Linked DNA regions of Homo sapiens: regions 2, 3, 4 and 5 are each linked to region 1. Evidence: promoter capture Hi-C in 16 types of primary human blood cells and fetal thymus (Javierre and others, 2016). All regions are on one chromosome and are shown on one strand. Each heading gives the region's core, a stretch centred on a gene start or on the middle of the fragment in contact. The rest is flanking DNA. Distances are from core to core; before and after follow the strand shown. Region 1 holds the start of SPATC1 (spermatogenesis and centriole associated 1). Region 2 overlaps HSF1 (heat shock transcription factor 1). Region 3 overlaps ADCK5 (aarF domain containing kinase 5). Region 4 holds the start of SLC39A4 (solute carrier family 39 member 4). Region 5 holds the start of DGAT1 (diacylglycerol O-acyltransferase 1).

Evidence for each region. Contacts are between HindIII fragments. The CHiCAGO score rates a contact against its expected background, and 5 or more counts as called.
Region 2: a contact is called between a fragment that was not itself captured here and the fragment with the promoter of SPATC1 in region 1, in 7 of 17 cell types (M0 macrophages, M1 macrophages, M2 macrophages and 4 more). The highest score is 11.8, in M0 macrophages.
Region 3: a contact is called between a fragment that was not itself captured here and the fragment with the promoter of SPATC1 in region 1, in 2 of 17 cell types (endothelial precursors and erythroblasts). The highest score is 5.9, in endothelial precursors.
Region 4: the fragment with the promoter of SLC39A4 here is called in contact with the fragment with the promoter of SPATC1 in region 1 in 3 of 17 cell types (erythroblasts, naive CD4 T cells and endothelial precursors); the score reaches 9.1 in erythroblasts.
Region 5: a contact is called between the fragment with the promoter of DGAT1 here and the fragment with the promoter of SPATC1 in region 1, in 2 of 17 cell types (endothelial precursors and erythroblasts). The highest score is 6.3, in endothelial precursors.

The regions. Positions count from the first base shown.
Region 1 is chr8:144,009,882-144,014,253 of GRCh38, forward strand. SPATC1 (spermatogenesis and centriole associated 1) reads left to right here and starts at 2,399. Exons shown (of 5, transcript NM_198572.3): 1 at 2,399-2,845. The coding sequence starts at 2,635. It also overlaps a transcript of PARP10 not described here. RefSeq lists an enhancer at 2,231-2,450. The HindIII fragment of the contact is 8,382 bases long and covers 1-4,372 here.
Region 2 is chr8:144,291,852-144,295,812 of GRCh38, forward strand. HSF1 (heat shock transcription factor 1) reads left to right here. Exons shown (of 13, transcript NM_005526.4): 1 at 1-23. Among named protein-coding and RNA genes, the nearest start is that of HSF1, 2.2 kb to the left of the region's middle. RefSeq lists a silencer at 1-100 and enhancers at 232-888, 491-550. The HindIII fragment of the contact is 1,460 bases long and covers 522-1,981 here.
Region 3 is chr8:144,383,379-144,387,126 of GRCh38, forward strand. All of the region lies in intron 3 of ADCK5 (aarF domain containing kinase 5), which reads left to right. Among named protein-coding and RNA genes, the nearest start is that of MIR939, 9.0 kb to the right of the region's middle. The HindIII fragment of the contact is 2,664 bases long and covers 1,016-3,679 here.
Region 4 is chr8:144,415,594-144,419,081 of GRCh38, forward strand. It overlaps SLC39A4 (solute carrier family 39 member 4), which reads right to left and starts at 1,251. Exons shown (of 12, transcript NM_130849.4): 1 at 1,005-1,251; 2 at 217-498. The coding sequence starts at 1,196. It overlaps LOC124902041 (a long non-coding RNA gene), which reads left to right. Exons shown (of 2, transcript XR_007061145.1): 2 at 1-3,488. The HindIII fragment of the contact is 10,558 bases long and covers 1-3,488 here.
Region 5 is chr8:144,324,333-144,328,722 of GRCh38, forward strand. DGAT1 (diacylglycerol O-acyltransferase 1) reads right to left here and starts at 2,520. Exons shown (of 17, transcript NM_012079.6): 1 at 2,105-2,520. The coding sequence starts at 2,304. RefSeq lists silencers at 2,147-2,216, 2,227-2,946. The HindIII fragment of the contact is 39,409 bases long and covers 1-4,390 here.

The DNA of each region.
Region 1 (4,372 bases), core at 1,149-3,648:
CTCCATGGCACCACCTGTGAACCAGCCACCCTCATTGCTTGCTTGGAGGACTGCAGTGGCCTCCTTACTGTGTGCCACTCAGTAGTTTCTTCCCTCCAATCTGTTCCCACATGCCCTTCCCTAAAGATCAATCAAGATCACAGCCACAGGCCCTGTCCCAACCTGGGCCCTCCATCCCTCCCCAGCACATACATCCACCCTGCTCATTCTGTGCTCTACCACACTTTTGGTTTCTTTGGTGAGGCACACTCCCCAACTGGATCTGGCCCACCTGCTGTACCCTCTCCCAGCACCAGTGCCTCTCCCAGGCAGCATTTATCGCAGGGTAAGCTCAGCATTTATATATGATCATTCAATTCATAGCCACTCTCCACTAGCTGGTAAAGTCGATAAGGTGGGGACAATGCCTGCTATGACTAGCACTGAACCCCCAATTCCTAACATAATGCCTGCCACAGTTGGTGGCCAACATATGTTTTCGGATGAAAGAACACTGGCATATGCAAAGAGAAACAGAGATGGTGCATCAGCCGGAGTTCTTTTATATTAGGAGATTTATTTTAAGGGCTTGGTCACATAATTGTGGAGGCTGGCAAGTCCAAAATCTGTAAGGCAGGCTGGCAACTCAGGTAGGAATTCTATGCTACAATCTTCAGGCAGAATTCCTTATTTTCCAGAAAACTTCAGGTTTTTTTCACTCTTAAGTTCTTCTGCCAGGCACAGTAGCTCACACCTGTAATCCCAGCACTTTGGGAGGCTGAGGCAGAAGGATTGCTTGAGCCCAAGAGTTTGAGGCCTGCCTGGGCAATGTGGTAAGACCCCATGTCTACAAAAAAAAATGTTTTTAATAAAAATTAGCCGAGTGTGGTGGCACACACCTGTAGTCTCAGCTACTTGGGAGGCTGAGGCAGCAGGATCGCTTGAGCATGGGAGGTCGAGGCAGCAGTGAACTATGATGGTGACACTGCATTGCAGCCTGGGCAACAGACTGAGACCTTGCCTCAAAAAAATAAATAAATAAATAAACAAATTTAAAAATTAAAAAAATAAATTTTTAAAAAGTTGTTCAACTGAATGGATGAGGCCCACCCAAATAACTGAAGGTAATCTCCTTTAAAGTCAACATCTTGTAGCTATTAATCACGTCTATTAGACGTCTAATAGACGTGATTAATAGCTACAAGTATATAATAGCTTCACAGCACTATCTAGGCTAGATTTTGACCAAACACCTGGACACTATAGCCTCACAAAATTGACACATAAAATGTAACCATCACTGACTGCATCAACCCAAGAGGCTAACAGTGAAATAAGACCATGACAAGCTAATTTTCACATGTTGAAGGAAAGCCCAACAGAGACACTCTATAAAGTTAGAGGGGTGACTGAAGAGACCTCAACTCTGGTTCTTGGGGGCTCTGGTCCCTGGGGCCAGAGTGACTGAGCCAGGATTACAGTCTGAAGCATTAGAGGAGGGGTGGGGGTAGGCCCCCCATTGTGAGGTCCAGGCAGAATGCTCAACTCACAGCGATCCCAGCCCTGGCTGACCTTCTTCCCCTTCCTCATTCCCACATTCTACCAGGAGTCTGTCCTCTGGCCTGTACCTGGACTTCGCTATCCTCTCCCTGCCCCAAAAAGAGGTTTGAGGGAGAACAGCCACAGAGCCAATGGAGGCCACGAGGACACGGCCTCACTCAGTACTCAAGGTCAGTACCATAGAGTTATCTGTAGATAGCTCTAAGAGAAGGGGAGCATCATGAGGACTGAGTCCTGAGTTCTTAGAACCAGGTGAGGGATGCAGTCTTGGGCTCCTGAAGGACTAAAGTCAGGAAAATTCAAGGAGCTGGGGAATAGAGATCCAAGTGCGGAGAAGGCAACGACGGGAGATTTGGAATAGGGAACGCTGAGTCACCAGAAATGGAAACTCCAAGTTATAGAGAGCTCCTGGACCAGCAGTAAGATAGAGACTCTGAGCACCTGGGTCAGAAGAAATCATGGGCGAGTGTCCAGGCCTTCAAGACACAGCAACCAGGAGAAGGCTGAGAGGCCAAACCCAGGCATGTTCAAGATCACCAAGAAGGGGCATCCTGGCCAGGAAGGTGGAGTGGTGGGTTTTCATTCAACAAATATTTACTGTTTACCTACAAACATTGTGCCAAGCCCTGTGCTGGACACTGGGGTTTCCAGGAACGTGTTACAATCCCTGACCTCACTGTAAAGCCAGTGGACAATGTTAAGGAGCTAGCACGGAACTGGAACCAGGGGAAGTGCTATGACACAGGACACATCTGCTGGGGAAACCCAGCGGGCAGCAATTAACTTGCGGTGGGGGAGAGGAAGTTTCACGGAAGAGGCACCATGAGGGTGAAGTTGGCGAGACAGAGAAAAGGTCAGGACATTCCAGGCCGAGGCAAGGCCTGTGTACAGGCCTGGTGGCATGGAGAGCTGAGGGTGTTAGAGCAGAGAGGGCAAGGAAGAGGGCACAGCCTCTGACCTCACAATACCCAGGGCCCACTGGGCCAGCCTTGCAGACTCTGCACCCTCCTTCAGCCCAGGCAAGGCCTGGGGCCCTGGGCAGCCTCCAGGTGCAGTGCCCTCCCGTGGGCCGCACCCTTGCCACTGCCCCAGGGCATGTCTCTACTCACCAATTATGAAGGGCTTCGGCATCAGATAGAGAGGCTGGTGCGGGAAAATGAGGAACTGAAGAAGTTGGTGCGGCTCATTCGGGAGAATCACGAGCTCAAGTCAGCGATCAAGACTCAGGCAGGCGGGCTCGGCATCAGCGGGTTCACGAGTGGGCTTGGTGAGGCAACAGCAGGCCTTTCCTCACGCCAGAACAATGGTAAGAGGCCTCGCTCCCAAGAGAGTGAGGAGGGAAGTGGGGACTGCACCAGAGAGGAGAGACTCAGTGTGCTGAGGTCTCAGGAGGTCATGGAGGGAGTGCCCTTCTCCTTGCCCTCTCTGCTCTAACACACTCAGCTCACCAGACAATGTGCTTCCTGTCCTGGAGGAGGCTGCATTCCCTCCTGTCCAGGGTGGACCTCTCCACAGGTGCTCAGAGCCCACCCACCCCTGCGGTGACCTGCCTCCATCACAGGCCCTGTACCTTGCCCTCCTTACCTGGCCCTCTCCTCTGTCCACCATCAGGTATGAAATCTTCCTCCTTCCCTGAAAGGACACCTCTGCTCTTTCTGGTCTCTGCTTATTTAAGCCTCTACAGCTTGGCAACGAACCCTGACACCACTGCTCTAGAACGGTCACAAGTGCCTTCCTAGGTGCTGCATCCTTCTCCACCTCTGCATGGCATCTGAGATCGATAGCCCTCCTCCATGACCCTCTTTCTGAGTTCCCAAGCCATCTTGTCCATCCCTCTGGCTCATCTTAATTGAGGCTGCTCCCAGGCTCTGGGTCCAGGCCCTGTCCCTCCACCCTCAGCCAGCGTACCCACAGCGCAGCTTCAACTCTCCACTAGAACTCAAGATCCCCTCCAGATCCTGCAGGCTCAATGAGTCACTGGAACTTAGCTCACTCCAAACTAGACATGTTTCTGACTGATAACTTGGGTCTTTCCAGCAGCTAAAGCCCTTCAGGCTTGTGCTCACTCCCCTCCTGTCTTAATTCCCTGCCCCCTACCCACTGGGTTCCCTGCCATACAACCTGAAATGTGGCATAGGGCTGGTCTTCAGTTCTCCCTTACTGATTACGAGCACATAGACACCTCTAGCTTTAAATGTTATACCCCTAATGACACAGAGACAACAGAGAGGGTAAAAAGAATAATACACATGGGGCCAGGTGCGGTGGCTCACACCTATAATCCCAGCACTTTGGGAAGCTGAGGCAAGCAGATGACCTGAGGTCAGGAGTTTGAGATCAACATGGCCAACATGGCGAAACGCCATCTCTACTAAAAACACAAAAATCTTCTGGACATGGTGGTTCACGCCTATAATCCCAGCTACTCGGGAGGCTGAGGCAGGAGAATCACTTGAACCTGAGAGGTGGAGTTTGCAGTGAGCCAAGATCACACCACTGCACTCCAGCCTGGTCAACAGAGCGAGACTCCATCTCAAAAACTAATAATAGGCTGAGTGCAGTGGCTCAGCCCATAATCCCAGCACTTTGGGAGGCCAAGGTGGGTGGATCACCTGAGGTCAGGAGTTTGAGACCAGCCTGGCCAACATAGTGAAACCCCATCTCTACTAAAAATACAAAAAGTTAGCCAGGCGTGGTGGCACATGCCTGTGGTCCCAGCCACTTGGGAGGCTGAGACAGGAGAATCCCTTGAACTGGGAGGCAGAGGTTGCAGTGAGCCGAGGTTGCGCCATTGCACTGCAGCCTGGGCAAAAAGAGCGAAATTTTGAAAGAA
Region 2 (3,961 bases), core at 2-2,501, 280 kb after region 1:
ACGCGCTCATCTGCTGGAGCCCGGTGAGGGCAGCGCGCGGGCGCGGGGCCCGTGGGGACCGGGAGGGAGCAGGGCCGCGGCGGACGGCGCGGGAGGGCTGCGGGGAGGGGCCCTGCCGCACTTCAGCTTACGCGCGGTGAGCCTGCCCTGCCCCCGCCAGAGAAGGGCGGCGGGTCCCGAGCCTGCTCAGACCCAGAGCCTTAAGTTGGGAAAGCGGCTACGAGACCCACACTCGGTTCAACCCCTGCCCCAGCGAAGTTTCCCTGGGATGGGGAGAATGGGGCGTCTCTTGTATTGGGCTTCTGCTAACTGTTGGGCGGTTGCGGAAGTGTCCGCGCTTAGGGCAAGCACCCGGCTTCGCCAGCGGACGCTATGCCCCAGAGGACATCGGCGTCCCCAGGGGACAGCCTACGGGGTGCTGGGTCGGCAACTATTAGGAGAAAGTCAGGACTTGGCACGTGAAGTGGAGGGCGTTGCTGTAGTGGAACAGGAAAGGCAGTGGAAACAGTAAGACGTCATGAAGCTTCAGGTTGATCTCAAGCCCGTTTCCGAATCCCAAATCTGGGTTTCCCAAGAGGAGTTTTGTTTTTCATTCCTTATGGGGCATCTTTATTCGTGTTTCTGTCTTCAGTTGCCTGGCAGCAGGCTTGTTTACATGGTCCGACCCTGCAAGACCGGACAGCTCCGGTTTGCAGAAGTAAATCAGTGATTGTCTGGAGTTGGAGATCAGAATCTGCTGTTCACATCCCGGCTGTGACGTCGTGTCCGGTGAGGGGCAGAGCCACCGCCTGCGGCTGGCAAGTGATGACCTGAAGAAGGGCCACACTGGCCGAGTGGGGTGACTCTTGCTTGTAATCCCAGCACTTTGGGAGGCGGAGGCGGGTGGATCACTTGAGGCCAGGAGTTCGAGACCAGCCCGGACAATATGGCAAAACCCCAGCTCTACTAAAAATACAAAAAATTTGCCGGGCGTGGTGGTGCTTGCCTGTGGTCTTAGCTACTTGGGAGGCTGAGATAGGAGGACTCCCTGGACCTGGGAGGCAGAGGTTGCACTGAACCAAGATCCCGCCACTGCAGCCTGGCAAAGAGTGAGACCCTGTCTAAGAAAAAAAAGAAAAAAAAGAAAGGCCACTGATCATTGGGAGCTTTTGGAGGCACCGTGACCGGCAGGGTGCCACCAAGCATGTGTGGCCTCCCAGGAGCTAAGACCCCAGAGTTCTTCAGGCTCTGCTGAGTGCCTCCCATTTGCACAGCCTCTTTATGCTGTTAGGAATGAAGAAAAGTCTAAACTGAAGCTGCCCCAGGCAGGAGGCCAGGTTTTCTGCTTCTTGGGTTTACTGAGGCTCTGCTTTACCTACAGAGTGTTTGGAAATAAAGAGAAGACTGGAAATCTTTGCTCTTGTTAGAAACACTTTGTGTTTGTCCCGCTGACACCTCTGTGTTGGCCTTCCCATCCCCAGGTCCCATTAAGGCACAGTGCACCTTCCTGGAGGCTGGCTTCATTTCACCATCTCTTCATTCTAGACCTTGGATTCTTGTGCAAAGGAAATACTCCCATGTTTCTGTCTTCTTTTATCCGTCTTTTTCTTTTTTCTTTTTTTTTTTTTTAGACCGAGTCTTGCTCTGTCACCCAGGTTGGAGTGCAGTGGTGCGATCTCGGCTCACTGCGACCTCCACCTCCCGGGTTCAAGCAATTCTGCCTCAGCCTCCCGAGTAGCCAGGACTACAGGTGCGTGCTGCCACACCCGGCTGATTGTTGTATTTTTAGTAGAGACGGGGTTTCACCACATTGGACAGGCTGGTCTGGAACTCCTGACCTCAAGTTATCCACCCGCCTTGGCCTCCCAAAGTGCTGGGATTACTGGTGTGAGCCACTGCACCCAGCCCTTCTTCTTTTTCTTATTCCCCTTAATCCTCAGAAGTTAAGGGGAATAACTCCCCCATTGGGGGAGGGGCATCCGCGATTATCTGGGATATTCTAAGCTTAATCCTACTAGCGTGATCTGTCCTGTCCCGTAATCTGCTTGCTGTTTCTGCTTAAAGATTATGAGGCATGTGGGTTAGGGCCCAGTGTACCCTTTTTTGGGACCGAGGCATGTTCTGGGCAGGGCTTTTGAGCAAGGAAGGCAGGTGTGATGAGGCCCGTGGCCAGCCTCCACTCCACTCACAGGTGCACCACCTGTGGATCTGTTCTCCCTGGGGAGGGATGGGGAGCCAACTGGAATGTGAGTGTTTGGTTCCACCTGGTCAGTATGAAGTGGCAATGGTTGGTGCAGGACGTAGCACTGGGGGCGAGCATGGCAATGAGACAGAAACACTGACTTAAAACTGGAAGGAAGCCCTTCTCCAGGCCGCGCAGGGGGCTGCAGAGCTTTCCGGCGCTGGCTGCCTGGCCTGGAGAAAGGAGGTGATCATCCCATCCTGTGACTTTGAGAGCACTCACACAAGCCCTGAGGACTCCCTGTCAGCAGAGTCCCAACAGGGCACCCTCCCACAAATCTACTGCCCAGGCCCAGCTGGCTCTCGGAGGCCTTGAGAAGGCCCTGGTGCTCTTGCTCTCTGCTGCCTTCTCTGGGAGAGTCTCCTTCTGGCTCAGAGTCTTACCACCATTCTGCCAAGAAAAACCCTCCCTATTTGACACAAGAAGATGAGGCAGAATCACAGGCATGGTGACTAACTCTCAAGGCTGAATAACCTGGGGGAGACCGAGGCCCAGAAACTGGCCAGTAACTTTACTGAGCCTGGCCAGGAATGGGACCAGGTCTGGACCACCATTGCACGTCCCCTCCCTGGCCTGAGATCAGGACTCCCACTGCAGCCACTGGAGGCAGAATGCCGGGTCACTGCCCAGGAGACCCCATTGGTGGGGACTGTGGCAGCTACCCCATCCCTGTGTTGTTTGATTTCCCACCCCCCCCTCCCAAGACCCTCATTCCCATGAGCACCCCACCCACACAGGCAAGGGCCTTGAGGGGACCCAGCAAGTCGTGGAGGACAGCACAGCCTTGGAGAGGAAATGTGTCAGCCACAAGGTTATGATCCCGGGGATCCACATAAGAGCATGGGCGTGCACGTGGGTGGTCCTCCCTCAGCCAGCTTCTCAACAGCTTCTCCCAAAGGTACACCTGGATCCAGTACCACTGAGACCCAAAGACGGGGTTGGGGGACTGAATACCTGGACTGACAGGCACCTCCATAGAACTGAGACCCATGAGACCCGGGACCCGCAGCCTCCCTGCCCCGTGCCCTGGTGCCGGCCCTCAGCCCAGCTTCCTCGTCTGCATGCAGCAGCTCCTCTGTCCACCAGCAGAGGCTCTTCTAGGGCCTTGCTGGGCTGCAGCTGACTCAGGAGGGCAACAGCCTCTTCAGAGAATTTGACAGCATGGAGAACCAAACAAAAGCAGAAAGTGAAGCCTCAGAACTGGGTTCACCATCATCCCAGTTTTTTACAAGCTATGATTTTGTCCCATCTTTATTAACAAGATAAGGAAGTATGAAAAGTAATCTCGACATCTGAGATGGTGAGATTACAGCCCCAGGAGCCACCCAGCTGGCTGAGGAGCCTGAGAACAAGGCACAGCCACATGACCTGTGCCAGACAAATGCTAGAATGATGGTCACGCAGGTTAGAACGAACCCAGGTAGACGGAGGCCTCAGGATCAGGGTGAGGCCAGAGGGGGCACCTGGGTGCAAAATTTAAGGAAGCACTTTTTGTTTTTTAGATAAGGTCTCGCTCTGTTGCCCAGGCTGGAGTGCAGGGCTATGATTGCAGCTCGCTGCAGCCTCTGCCTCCCAGGCTCAAGTGATCCAGTCACCTCAGCTGAGTCACTGGGACTACAGGCTTGCACCACCAGACCTGGCTTTTTTTTTTTTTTCTTTTTAAGGTTTTAGTAGAGACAGGGTCTCGCCGTATTGCCCAAGCTAGTCTGGAACTCACGGGCTCAAGCCATCCTCCCATCT
Region 3 (3,748 bases), core at 1,098-3,597, 370 kb after region 1:
AGGCGTCCTTTCCTACATGGGAAGGTGCTGGCTGAAGGGACAGTGAGCACTGGCGGGGCCTATAGGAGGTGGTGTAGACAAGGGTCCTCCACATTGGATGCAGCCGCCACAGGCCCTTCCCTAGTTCAGCCTTGGCCTTAGTGGGGAGGCGCTCCAGCCCTGGGCCCGTGCCTTCTCCCTCAGGCTTCTAGGCTGGCAGAGAAGCAGCTGCCCTGCCTTCCTTCTCTTCTTGCCCCATTCCAAGGTTTGGGCCTGGGAGAGGAGGCTGCCTCTGTCCCTTGCCCTGGAGATGGGCAAAATCGGGTTATTGCTGTCAGGGCCCTTTCTTCCTCCATTACCTTACAGTGAAGAACTCAGGGGGAGGGTGAGGACACCTTCTGTTGGAACCCTTGGGTGGGCATTCCTGCTTTTGTCAGATCCCGGAATTCCTGCAGCCACAAAGCCCTGCTAGCCTGAGCCTGGTGGAACCAGCTCTTGGCTTTGAGAGAAACCTGTTAGCCCAAAGCCCTTTTTTTTTTTTTTTTTTTTTTTTGAGACAGAGTCTCGCTCTGTCACCCAGGCTGGAGTGCAGTGGCGCAATCTCGGCTCACTCAAGCCCCGCCTCCCTGGTTCACGCCATTCTCCTGCCTCAGCCTCCTGAGTAGCCGGGACTACAGGTGCCCACCACCATGCCTGGCTAAATTATTTATTTATTTATTTATTTATTTAGTATTTTTAGTAGAAACGGGGTTTCACTGTGTTAGCCAGGATGGTCTCGATCTCCTGACCTCGTGATCCACCCGCCTCGGCCTCCCAAAGTGCTGGGATGACAGGCGTGAGTCACCGTGCCCAGCCCCCAAAGCCCTTTTGAATGGAGCGTCAGGGCAGGAAGGAGGCAGGGAGGGTGTGGTCCTGTTCTGCCTGCCTCCGAGCATCTGCCAGGCCTAGGTCAGTTTCTCAGCAAGTGCCTCGGCTTCTGGTGCCTTCAGAGATTTCACCAGAAGTTTCACAGAAATTTCCTCCAGCAGTGAGTGGAAGCTTGTGGATAGCTGGGCACCTGAGGATTTTCAGCCTAAAAGACAAAACAGTCGTTCCCCACGTGGGTCTCCCTGGCATCTGGTTTTGCTTGGAGTTCCTGCTGTCCCTGCCTGCAGATTTTGGGTGGCATTGTCTGTCTTGCAGGGCCATCCAGTCTCGCAGCCTGGGGTGGGTGACGACAGAGCCTCGGGTCCTCTGCCTTTTTCTCGTGACCCTCCGCTGCAGTGCATGCAAGGGCCACACAGGGCTGCCAGCCACCGTCCCCTGCAGCCTGGTTCTGAAATGTCGGCTTGGCAGGCCTGGGTTTGTCTCACCCTCTATTTCATGGCATGCAGCTGTGTCTGGTGTCCACCTCCTCGGCCACCGGCTTGGTGAGCCTGCGTTTTGGGCTCACTTTGTGGGAAAACATCTTCTCACAGCTCGCTCTCAGGGGCTGAGCTGGGGTTGCAGGGAGGGACCTCTGTTGTTAATTTTCCCAGCAGTCTGCACGTTCTCCTTGGCTCTAAGCCGTCACGGTTGCATAGACAAGCAGGCCTGTGGAGCTTCCCTGGCAGGGCACAGGGTAGCCTGGGAACACATCCTGGGTGACAGCAGCACCCATGCAGGGGCCCAGGAAGGAGCGCGGGTGAGGAGCATGGCGGTGCCAGTGCACCATGAGAAAAGGCAGCAGAGGTCAGAACAGGCCACAGGTACCCAAATGATCAGGGGCTGCCCAGGAAGGTGGAAGGTTTGGGACAATGTTTCTCTGCCTCAGAGCCCTGTCTTTAATCTCTGCCACTCCTTACATTTTCTTTTTTTTTTTTTTTTGAGACGGAGTCTTGCTCTGTCACCCAGGGTGGAGTGCAGTGGTGCGATCTCAGCTCACTGCAACCTGTGCTCCCTTGGTTTAAGCGACTCTCCTGTCTCGCCTCCCAAGCAGCTGGGATTTCGGGTGTGTGGCACCACGCCCGGCTAGTTTTTGTATTTTTAGTAGAGACAGGGTTTCGTCATGTTGGACAGGCTGGTCTCCAACTCTTGACCTCAGGTGAACTGCTCAGCTCGGCCTCTCAAAGTGCTGGGATTACAGGTGTGAGCCACCACACCTGGCCCTAAACTTAAATCACCACCAGGCGCGGTGGCTCACGCCTGTAATCCCAGCTACTTTGAGAGGCTGAGGCAGGGGAATCACTTGAACCTGGGAGGCGGAGGTTGCAGTGAACCAAGATCACGCCATTGCACTCCAGCCTGGAAGACAGAGCCAGACCCGTCTCAAAAAATAAAAATAAAAAATAAAATCACCTATATGTGGCCGGGCATGGTGGCTCACGCCTGTAATCCCAGAACTTTGGGAGGCCGAGGTGGGTGGATCACGAGGTCAGGAGATCGAGACCATCCTGGCTAACATGGTGAAACCCCGTCTCTACTAAAAAATACAAAAAATTAGCCGGGCTTGGTGGCGGTTGCCTGTAGTCCCAGCTACTTGGGAGGCTGAGGCAGGAGAATGGCGTGAACCCGGGAGGCGGAGCTTGCAGTGAGCCAAGATCACGCCACTGCACTCTAGCCTGGGTGACAGAGCGACTCTCTGTCTCAAAAAAAAAAAAAATCACCTATGTGTTTTGCTTTCCCCCACCGCCCCTTTTTCTTTTATTTTTTGGAGACAGTCTCACTCTGTTGCCCAGGCTGGAGTGCAGTGGCTTCGTCTCAGCTCACTGCAACCTCCATATCCCAGGTTCAAGCAATTCTCATGCTTCGGCCTCCCGAGTAGCTGGGACTACAGGTGTGCGCGCCACCATGCCCGGCTAATTTTTTATATTTTTAGTAGAGATGGGGTTTTGCCATGATGCCCAGGCTGGTCTTGAACTCCTGAGTTCAGGTGATCCGTTTGCCTCAGCCTCCCAAATGGCTGGGATTACAGGTGTGAGCTATCATACCTGAACTAAATTTAACTTTTTTTTTAAAATTTTTTAATTTTTTATTTAACTTATTTTTTTTTATTTTTTGAGATGGAGTTTCGCTCTTGCTGCCCAGGCTGGAGTGCAATGGTGGGATCTCGGCTCACTGCAACCTCCATCTCCCGGGTTCAAGCGATTCTCCTGTCTTAGCCTTCTGAGTAGCTGGAATTACAGGTGCCCACCATCACGCCCGGCTAATTTTTGTATTTTCAGTAGCAATAGGGTTTCATCATGTTGGCCAGGCTGGTCTTGAACTGCTGACCTCAAGTGATCTGCCCGCCTCGGACTCCCAAAGTGCTGGGATTACAGGCATGAGCCACCACGCAGGCCATGCCTGGAGTTTTTGTTGGGGTATTAATACTTGGGCGGGATTGATTGAAAATCTCCAGTTTCTCAGAAAATCCCAGGAATTCAGTTTCCAGCCCCGGTCCTCCCGCTCCCATCCCCGTGGGCCCCAAAGTGGTGGGTCTTCGCCCTGAGTCCCTTCTTAGCATAAGCCCTCAGGGCCACCATGGAAAACAGAGGCACTCCTTATCACTCAGGAAATCCCAAGGACTTAAGAAGGGACAAAGGTCAGTCCTCTGTTTGGGTAAAGTTAATTCTTCATTGCACATGATTGGACACCTTTGAAGATTACAGGCTTGTAAGTATTGTATAACAAGAGTCAGCAAACTGTGGTCCCTGGGCCAAGTGCAGGGGCCTAGTGTGGCAGCTGTCTGATTTGCAAATAAAGCTTTATTGGAACACAGCCATGCCCATGCATTGCCTGTGACCACTTGGTGCACAGTTGCCCATGTGCT
Region 4 (3,488 bases), core at 1-2,500, 400 kb after region 1:
CTCTGGGTTCCTCCCTCATGAGGTCCCTCCCGGGGCTCCTACAGGCTCCCAACTGCCCAGTAGTGAGCCCCACGTTGTGAATCCCCAGCCGCAGGCCGACTCCTGGGCGTCTCCCCAGGCCCCCAGGCTCCCCGAAGGCTTTGCAGCCAGGCCGGGTCCCATGGGCCGTGGGACCCTCCTCACCCACTCCCCTGGTCTGCCTGGACTCTCCCTCACCATCTTGGGGGTCTGGCCGGCAGCCCGGGCCTGCATCCTCTGCAGCAGCCAGCTCAGGCCCGGGGTCAGGGCCTTGGGGCTCTCGAGCAGGGCCAGGAGGTGGTCTGCATGAGAGGCCCAGAGGCCAGCCCGAGCGTCCTCACAGGTGCCCTCGGGGTTGCTGAGGTACAGGACGGCGGCGGCACTGAGGCGGGCGACGTACCTGGCCTCCAGGACCGGGCCCGGGGGCAGCCCTGACCCCTCAGGCTCGCCCAGGCCCAGGGCGTCCTCCACAGACAGGCACTGTGGGCAGAGACAAGTGAGCAGGGGCGCTGGGCCCACCAGGGAGGGGAGAGGCAGGCCTGGCCAGGGGCTTCCCCGAGGGCCTGTTTCCCTTTCAAGTCCAACAACGTCCACCATCCTCTCTCAACCCCTGGCGCCCTTCCGTCTCCCCAGGCCCCTGTCCTGCTTCCCCAACTACAGGGGTGCACGCAGAGGGGTCCCCAACAGTGGTCCCCCATCCCCAGGGGACTCCCCTGGAGCCACTGCCAATTTGATGGCAGAGGGCCGGCAGGGGGAGTTGGCCCTGGGGTCCTGGGGAGAAGAGGGACTGTGTCCCTGGAAAGGCCTGTCTGCCCTCATGAGCAGGAGGGTGGGCTCTGGCCTGTGGGGAGGGTCAGGGTGCCCAGGTACTGCCACTAGCCTCCTCCGCCTCCTGGAGTTTGCCCAGGGCCCTTTGCTGCCGGCTGGCAGGGCGGAGCTGGCGGGAAGAGGCCAGGGCTGGGGGACCCGTCGGGTGGGGCTGTTACCTTTCCACACGGCCCGTTGGCGCAGTGCACACGGTCCGCCAGCGTATTTAACAGGCCGCCCAGAGCCTCTTGATCCAGAGCGCCCTGGCCAGAGGTGAGCAGGCTCAGCAGACCAGCAGGCGGGGACGCCGTCGCCGTCACCACCAGCACAGCCAGAAGCAGCCCCAGCTCCAGCGAGACCAGGGACGCCATACTCAGCTCCCAGCGTGCTCAGTGGGTGTTGCTGTGGCCAAGGCCCAGTGCTTCTGGGCTGGCTGAGGGCGGCTTTGCTGGGGTTGTCCAGGGCCAGACTGGGGCTGGGCTAGGACCCGCCCGGGCTGCATGAGGACCTCTCCCAGGTATTCCTGCAGAGCTCTGTGATTGGCTGCTGGAGATGCCTGGGTTAACCATTCCAGTGGCAGATCCTCCCCAACAGCCTGGAGCCACTGCCTGTGGGGGTCGAGGGCTGGGCCCCTTCCCCTGGACAGGCAGCCTCGGTGGTCTTTTTTTTTTCGAGTTGGAGTTTTGCTCTTGCTGCCCAGGCTGGAGTGCAATGGCGTGATCTTGGCTCACGGCAACCTCCGCCTCCCGGGTTCAAGTGCTTCTCCTGCCTCAGCCTCCCGAGTAGCTGGGATTACAGGCAGCGCCACCACGCCCGGTTACTTTTGTATTTTTAGTAGAGACAGTGTTTCTCCATGTTGGTCAGGCTGGTCTTGAACTCCCAACCTCAGGTGATTCGCCCGCCTTGGCCTCCCAAAGTGCTGGGATTACCGGCGTGGCTCACCACGCCAGGCCAGCCTGGGTGGGCTTCTGTCCTCTGCCTGCTGCCCCCCAAGCTGTGGGGCAGGGCTGGGGTGTCCCCTTCTGGCTGTCCATCTGGGGGCTGCCTCCAAGCTGGGGGACACAGGGCAGAGGTGCACAGATGCCCCCAGAGCCTGAGAGCTCCCAGGTCCCTGCCTCTGCCCCTCCCAACAGAGGCTGCCCAGACACCCTCGGTGGCCCCTGTTGGGGGTGGGGACATGGACCTCCCTCCTCCTGGGTCCTGGGCTGTGGTCCCTGTTGGGGACTGCGATGGAGTCAAAGAAACTGAAAAGGTGCCTGCTGCATCATGCTCCCTTAGGCCGGAGACAGCCCCAGGAAGCTCCAACACAGACAAACAGGAAGACGGAGCTGGGCCCTGGCAGCCACCTGGCCGAGCTTGGGTCAGGATAAGATTGGGGCAAGACCCCAGCTCTAGCCCCGGGGGCAGGGAGGCTGTGGCTCCCAGCCCTGCCCTCTCTGTGGGCTCCCTCTCTGGCCTTTGAGCCTAGAGGCCTTATCTCTACCGTGGTGGTGATGGCAGGAAGTCTGGGGGAAGGGGAAGGCAGATCTCAGGGCAGCTTTGCCTTCTGAAGGGGGAGTCCAGATGCCACCTCCCGCCCGGTCCAGCCAGCCTGACCCTGAGCATTGTGGGTGGGGCTGGGGTGGGGAGCTGGGTGCCTGAGGCCCAAGGACTCTGTCCCGCCATACACAGGGTGGGACGGGGCAGGGCGGGCATTGAGCCCAGTGTCCTGGGGTCAGGGTGCTTCCCCTGCCGGCCTCACCCCACCAAGCGGATCTCATGGTGCTCCTCTGGCTGGGCCCACCCGCAGTGGTATCCTTCTGGGGGCCCTTAGGGGAGCCTGCCGGGGGTGCAGATCCTGCCGGGGGTGCAGAGCCTGCTGGGGGTGCAGATGATTTCTGGGTCCCAGGACCATGAGGGGGCTGCTCTACACACAGCCTGAAGATGCTGCGGACCCAAACTGGCCCTTTCCCTCCCACACCACCCCAGGACCAATGGGCTGGCTGGAGGCCACCCATGCTAAAATAGGCTCAAGGGCCTACTTTAGCTTCTGGGCAAAGGTCTTGGCCTGGGCCTGACTCTGTGGCCTTCCTGAGCTGCCTCCCCAGTAGGCCTCAGTGCTGGGCTACAGGCCTCCTCCATTCCCTCCATTCATGTGACCCCACCCCTCCCAGCAGAAACTCTCTTCCGTAGCCCAGGAGCAGCTGTTGAGGGTTTCACCTGCCCATGCCCCAGCCTAAGGCCGGCTTCCCCAGAGCAGACGGGTTGCACTCTCCTGCCCCTCAGGCCCACTCTGTCATCCAACAAGCTCACTGCAACTGGCCCATCTTAAAAACAACACCGGCTGGTCACGCTGGCTCACACCTGTAATCCCAGCGCTGTGGGAGGCCGGGGCGGGGGGATCACTTAAAGTCAGGAGTTTAAGACCAGCCTGGGCAACATGGTGAAACCCGAGCTCCACTAAAAACACAAAAACAAATTAAGGCACCCTGAGTGGTGGTGGGTGCCTGTAGTCCCAGCGACTCGGGAGGCTGAGGCAGAATTGCTTGAGCCCAGGAGGTGGAGGCTGCAGTGAGCCACGATCGCATCACGCACTCCAGCCCGGGCAACCTGGCAAGACCCTGACTCTAAAAAGAAAAAAACAACAACAAAAAAAAGCCCACGTTCAATGGCAGCACTATTCA
Region 5 (4,390 bases), core at 1,270-3,769, 310 kb after region 1:
TGAGGCTGACAAGGGGGTGCGCTAGAGGCCAAGTCCCAGGAGGGCAGGCAGAGCAAGGCCTGACGCAGACAGCAGGGAGAAGAGCCCAGTGTCCACAGCCAGTGGCCGAGCCCTGCTGCATCCCTAGGTCTGAGGGACAAGCACACATAGCCTGCAAGTCCTGGAGACCCAGGAGCAGATAGACTTTTGGTCTCAGCCTCCAGCCCCATGAAGGCCTCACCTCTCCATCTACTGCCCCTCTTCCCAAGGAGACCCGACCTCCACGGCAGGGACAGGGACTCACCAGGCCTCTCCCACGAGCTCTGCACCCATCCCACACCAGCAGAAGTACAGGAAAGCCTTGCTGGTTTGCAAAGCAAGAAGGTGACTGCTCTCCCCTGCCTACCCCCAGGTGGCGGCTTGGCCCAAAGCTGGGACTACCCTCATCTCACACTAAAAAAAATCTCAATTCCCGGCCGGGCGCGGTGGCTCACACCTGTAATCCCAGCACTTTGGGAGGCCAAGGCAGGTGGATCACCTGAGTTCAGGAGTTCGAGACCAGCCTGACCAACATGGAGAAACCCCATCTCTACTAAAAATACAAAATTAGCCGGGTGTGGTGGGCGCCTCTAATCCCAGCTACTCTGGAGGCTGAGGCAGGAGAATCACTTGAACCTGGGAGGCAGAGGTTGCAGTGAGCCAAGAATGTGCCATTTTACTCCAGCCTGGGCAACAAGAGCAAAACTAGTCTCAAAAAAAAAGAAAAGAAAAAAAAAGAAATCTCAATTCCCACGTCCTCCACAGGTCATGTAGCCATCCCCCTGCCTCCTGGAGAGAGGGTAACTCCAGGAGCCACACCTCCTTTTCAGGTAGGAGGTGCCTAGGCCAGCCTCCCTCACCAGCACCCCAGGCCCACAGCAGGCAAGCACCCCTCTCAGGAGGGCCACCCTCCTCCCCACGGCCCCTTCAAGGCCTCCGTGCCCGACCTTTGTCCATGTTGCTCCATGCCTGACTCTCGCTGAGGTTATCTTATCTCCCAGATGAACTGAGCACCCTGAGGGCCACGACAGTGCCTGCCCTCCCCCAACCCCCTCCCCATGGTGCCCCGTGAAGGAAAGCTCTGTTCTTGCTCACTGAGAGAGCAAATCATTGCCAACTACATGTCCAAAATCAGCCCACTTCTGCCTTGATAACCTCTAGGCCCTCAGCTGCTCTCTAAAACAAAGCCCTGAGGGCCCCTGGGCCAGGGTAAAGGCCATAAAGGGGGGATGGAGGGTGGCAAGGGGATTGCTCAAGGCCAGCTTGGTGGAGGAAGCCAATGCCCAGGCTGGCCAAGTCCTTCCCATCGGCCATGGTTCTCTCCCTCCACCCCTCTCTGTCAGTCATCCAGCTGAGCAGGGCACACGCCTGCAGGTGTGTCCACCACCCCCATACCCCACTCCCCACCTGGAGGATGGAAGTCCCAACACAGAACCCAACTCTCTGTCCCTACAACAGACGCTGGCTCTGGCAACATCGGCAGGGCTCCAGGCCAGCCTAACCACTGGAGCAATGAATGGGCCACGCAGCCACTCTCAGAAGGGTCTGCAAGGACAAGAACGCCTCTAACACTGCCCCTTGTCCGGGGCAGCTGCTGATTCCCCTGTCCTCGGACAGGCCTGGGCTCCTCTGGCCCCCTCCCTGGCAGGCCAGCCCTCCTCTGGGAGCCTTTCCTACCCGCAAGGCACCGCTCATAGCACCAAGAAGGAACCTATCACCACAAACTGCCCAGATCTTATCTGACTCCTTCCATATAAGGGGACACTGTCCAGGGCCGGGCCCCCACCAGCCCGCCCCTCGAAAAGCTCCTCAGGAGCCCCTGAGGATGCACAGACCCAAGAGGATCTGGATGCGGGACACCTGCCGGCTCCCCTCTGCCTGGCCAAGGCCAGCTCCAGAGCCCCTACCCAGTGACCTTGTCAGGTGACTCTCCCCAAGCCTCAGTTTCCCCACAGGGCCCATAGGGCACACCGATCCCCGCTTAGCCCAGGGCCCATGTTCTCGGACTCGGAGCTCGCGCTTCGGCCAACCCCGGAAAGTCGCGGGGCCCTTGGGTCAGAGGTTAGGGGGTCAGGCGCTCCGCTACCTCAGCTCCCAGTGGCCGCTGCCCACGCCGGCGTCTCCGTCCTTGTTGGGGGCCGGGGCTGGCGCGTCCCCCGCGGCTCCCACGTCGGGGCCCGCAGCGGCGTCCCGCACCTCCTCTTCCGCCGCCGCAGGCCCGCCGCCGCCGTGGCTCGAGGGCCGCGACCCTGTCCTCCGGCGCCGGGAGCTGCCGCGGTCGCCCATGGCCTCAGCCCGCACCCGGCCGCAGCCAAGCGTGGGCCCGCCGGGTTCGTAGCGCCCGAGGCGCGCGGCCCCACCTCCGGGCCCTAGACAACGGCCGCCACTGCCCCCTGCCGGCCGCCGTAGCCCGGGTGACCGCCTCACCAGCGCGTTCAACCCGCCCGCGTCGGGCCCGTCGGCCTCAAGGACAACGGCTGCGTTGCTCCGGAGCCGCTAACTAATGGACGGCCGCCTCTCTCGTCCATTTGTAGTCCGCGGCCGACCTGAGGCGGGGCCTGGAGAGGCTGACGGGGCGCAGGGCACCCTGGGAGTCGTAGTCGCCGCGGGCGCGCCGGCGCAGAGCACCCTGGGAGTCGTAGTCGCCGCGGCCGCACCGGCGCAGAGCACCCTGGGAGCCGTGGCAGCTCCCAGGGCCGGGGCTGCGGGCCGCAAGTGCGCGCAGCGGGAACGGACCTTGCATCGCTCCCGCGTGGTCCCGGGGTCCTGTCCGGCCCCACGGAGCGGGATGGTCCGCTGAGGGGTGCGCTGGGCCCCGACTTCCTGGCCGCTGTGCGCCCGCCCCTCGTCCCACTTGTGTACACACGGGGTCTCGGCGAGTCACTCCGGGCAATCATTTAGGAAGCGCCTAGTGCGCCACGGTCCAGCTGTCCGGGCCGGTGTCCGCGGCGGCTCGCGTCGCCCGCCACCCAGCGCGTTGGTTTCTGCGCACGCAGCTTACAGTAACGTCCCTGGCGCGCTTCTGCTCCGCGAGCCCTCTGGTTACCCCGGCAGGAACCTGCTTTTCTTCGCCTTAGGGGGACGTCAGACAAGGGCCAGGTCAGAAGACCAAGCTGGAGAAATGCACCAGGCCCTGCGTCACCGGGACGCCTGCCTTGCACGCGACTCCCAGGCTCTCCACCTCCCCGCCTGCAGAGCCCGGCGAGAGGAGGGCGAGGGCGAGGGCGAGGGCGCAGGCCCCTTGGTGGTGTCTTCTCAGCCCACCCACTCTCTCCACAAGGAGCTCCACGTCCCTCAACTCTCAGGGCCTCCCAGTTTCCAACGTGGGCCAGCCTCTCCAGGATGTCAGAAGTCTGGGCCGCTGGATCGCCGGGACTCAAGAGGCTTCTGTGCATTTGCACGGCCTGTGCAACCGCCCTGTTGTTTTTTGTTTTCTTTTTTCTTTTTTTGAGACAGTCTCACTCTGTCGCCAGGCTGGAGTGCAGTAGCGCGATCTCGTCTCACTGCAACCTCCACCTCCTGGGTTCAAGCGATTCTCCTGCCTCAGCCTCCCGAGTAGCCAGGACTACAGGCGCGTGCCACCACGCCCAGCTAATTTTTCTGTTTTTAGTAGAGACGGGCTTTCACCATATTGGCCAGGCTGGTCTCGATCTCCTGACCTCGTGATCCGCCCACCTCGGCCTCCCAAAGTGCTGGGATTATAGGCGCAAGCCACCGCGCCTGGCCTGTTGTTATTTTTTCTAAAGATGGGGGTCTCGCTATTCTGCCCAGGCTGGTCTCGAACTCCTGGCCTCACGCAATCCTCCCACCTCGGCCTCTGAAGGTGCTGGGATTACAGGTATGAGCCACTGCCCCAGACATCTTGTATGTTAAATGAAGCAACTAATCAACTGTAACAGCCACAGTTGCGGCCCACCTTGGCTTGGTGTGCATATTGCACAGGGCATGGAGTGAGAACATCCTGGATCTCAGGATGCCAGGGTTCACTGAGGACTCTGACTCTAGAAACACCTTCATTCCTCTGGGGTGAGCAGGGGCAAGCAGCACTTCTCTGGAAGCAAACAGGTGCTCCTCCTGAGGTGGGGTCCTCTCCCGTGGGCTGGTCACAGCCTCGCCTCTGAGCTCCGTCCTCTTCCACCACCTCCACCAACAGTGGCCAGCAGGGCTGCCCCCTTGGTTGCCCCCCTGGTGACATATTCTTGTCACCACAGGCCGCTGTGGGTTGCTGCCAACCAGGTATCAGGCAGGCTGGAGCTACCTGGCAGATGCCCTTTGTGTAGCCTGCCGAGTGGGGCCGCCCTCACTGGACCCAAGAGCCCCTCACACATGGGCCTTGGTCGGTCAGGACCAGCCCCATCTCCTACCCAGTCTC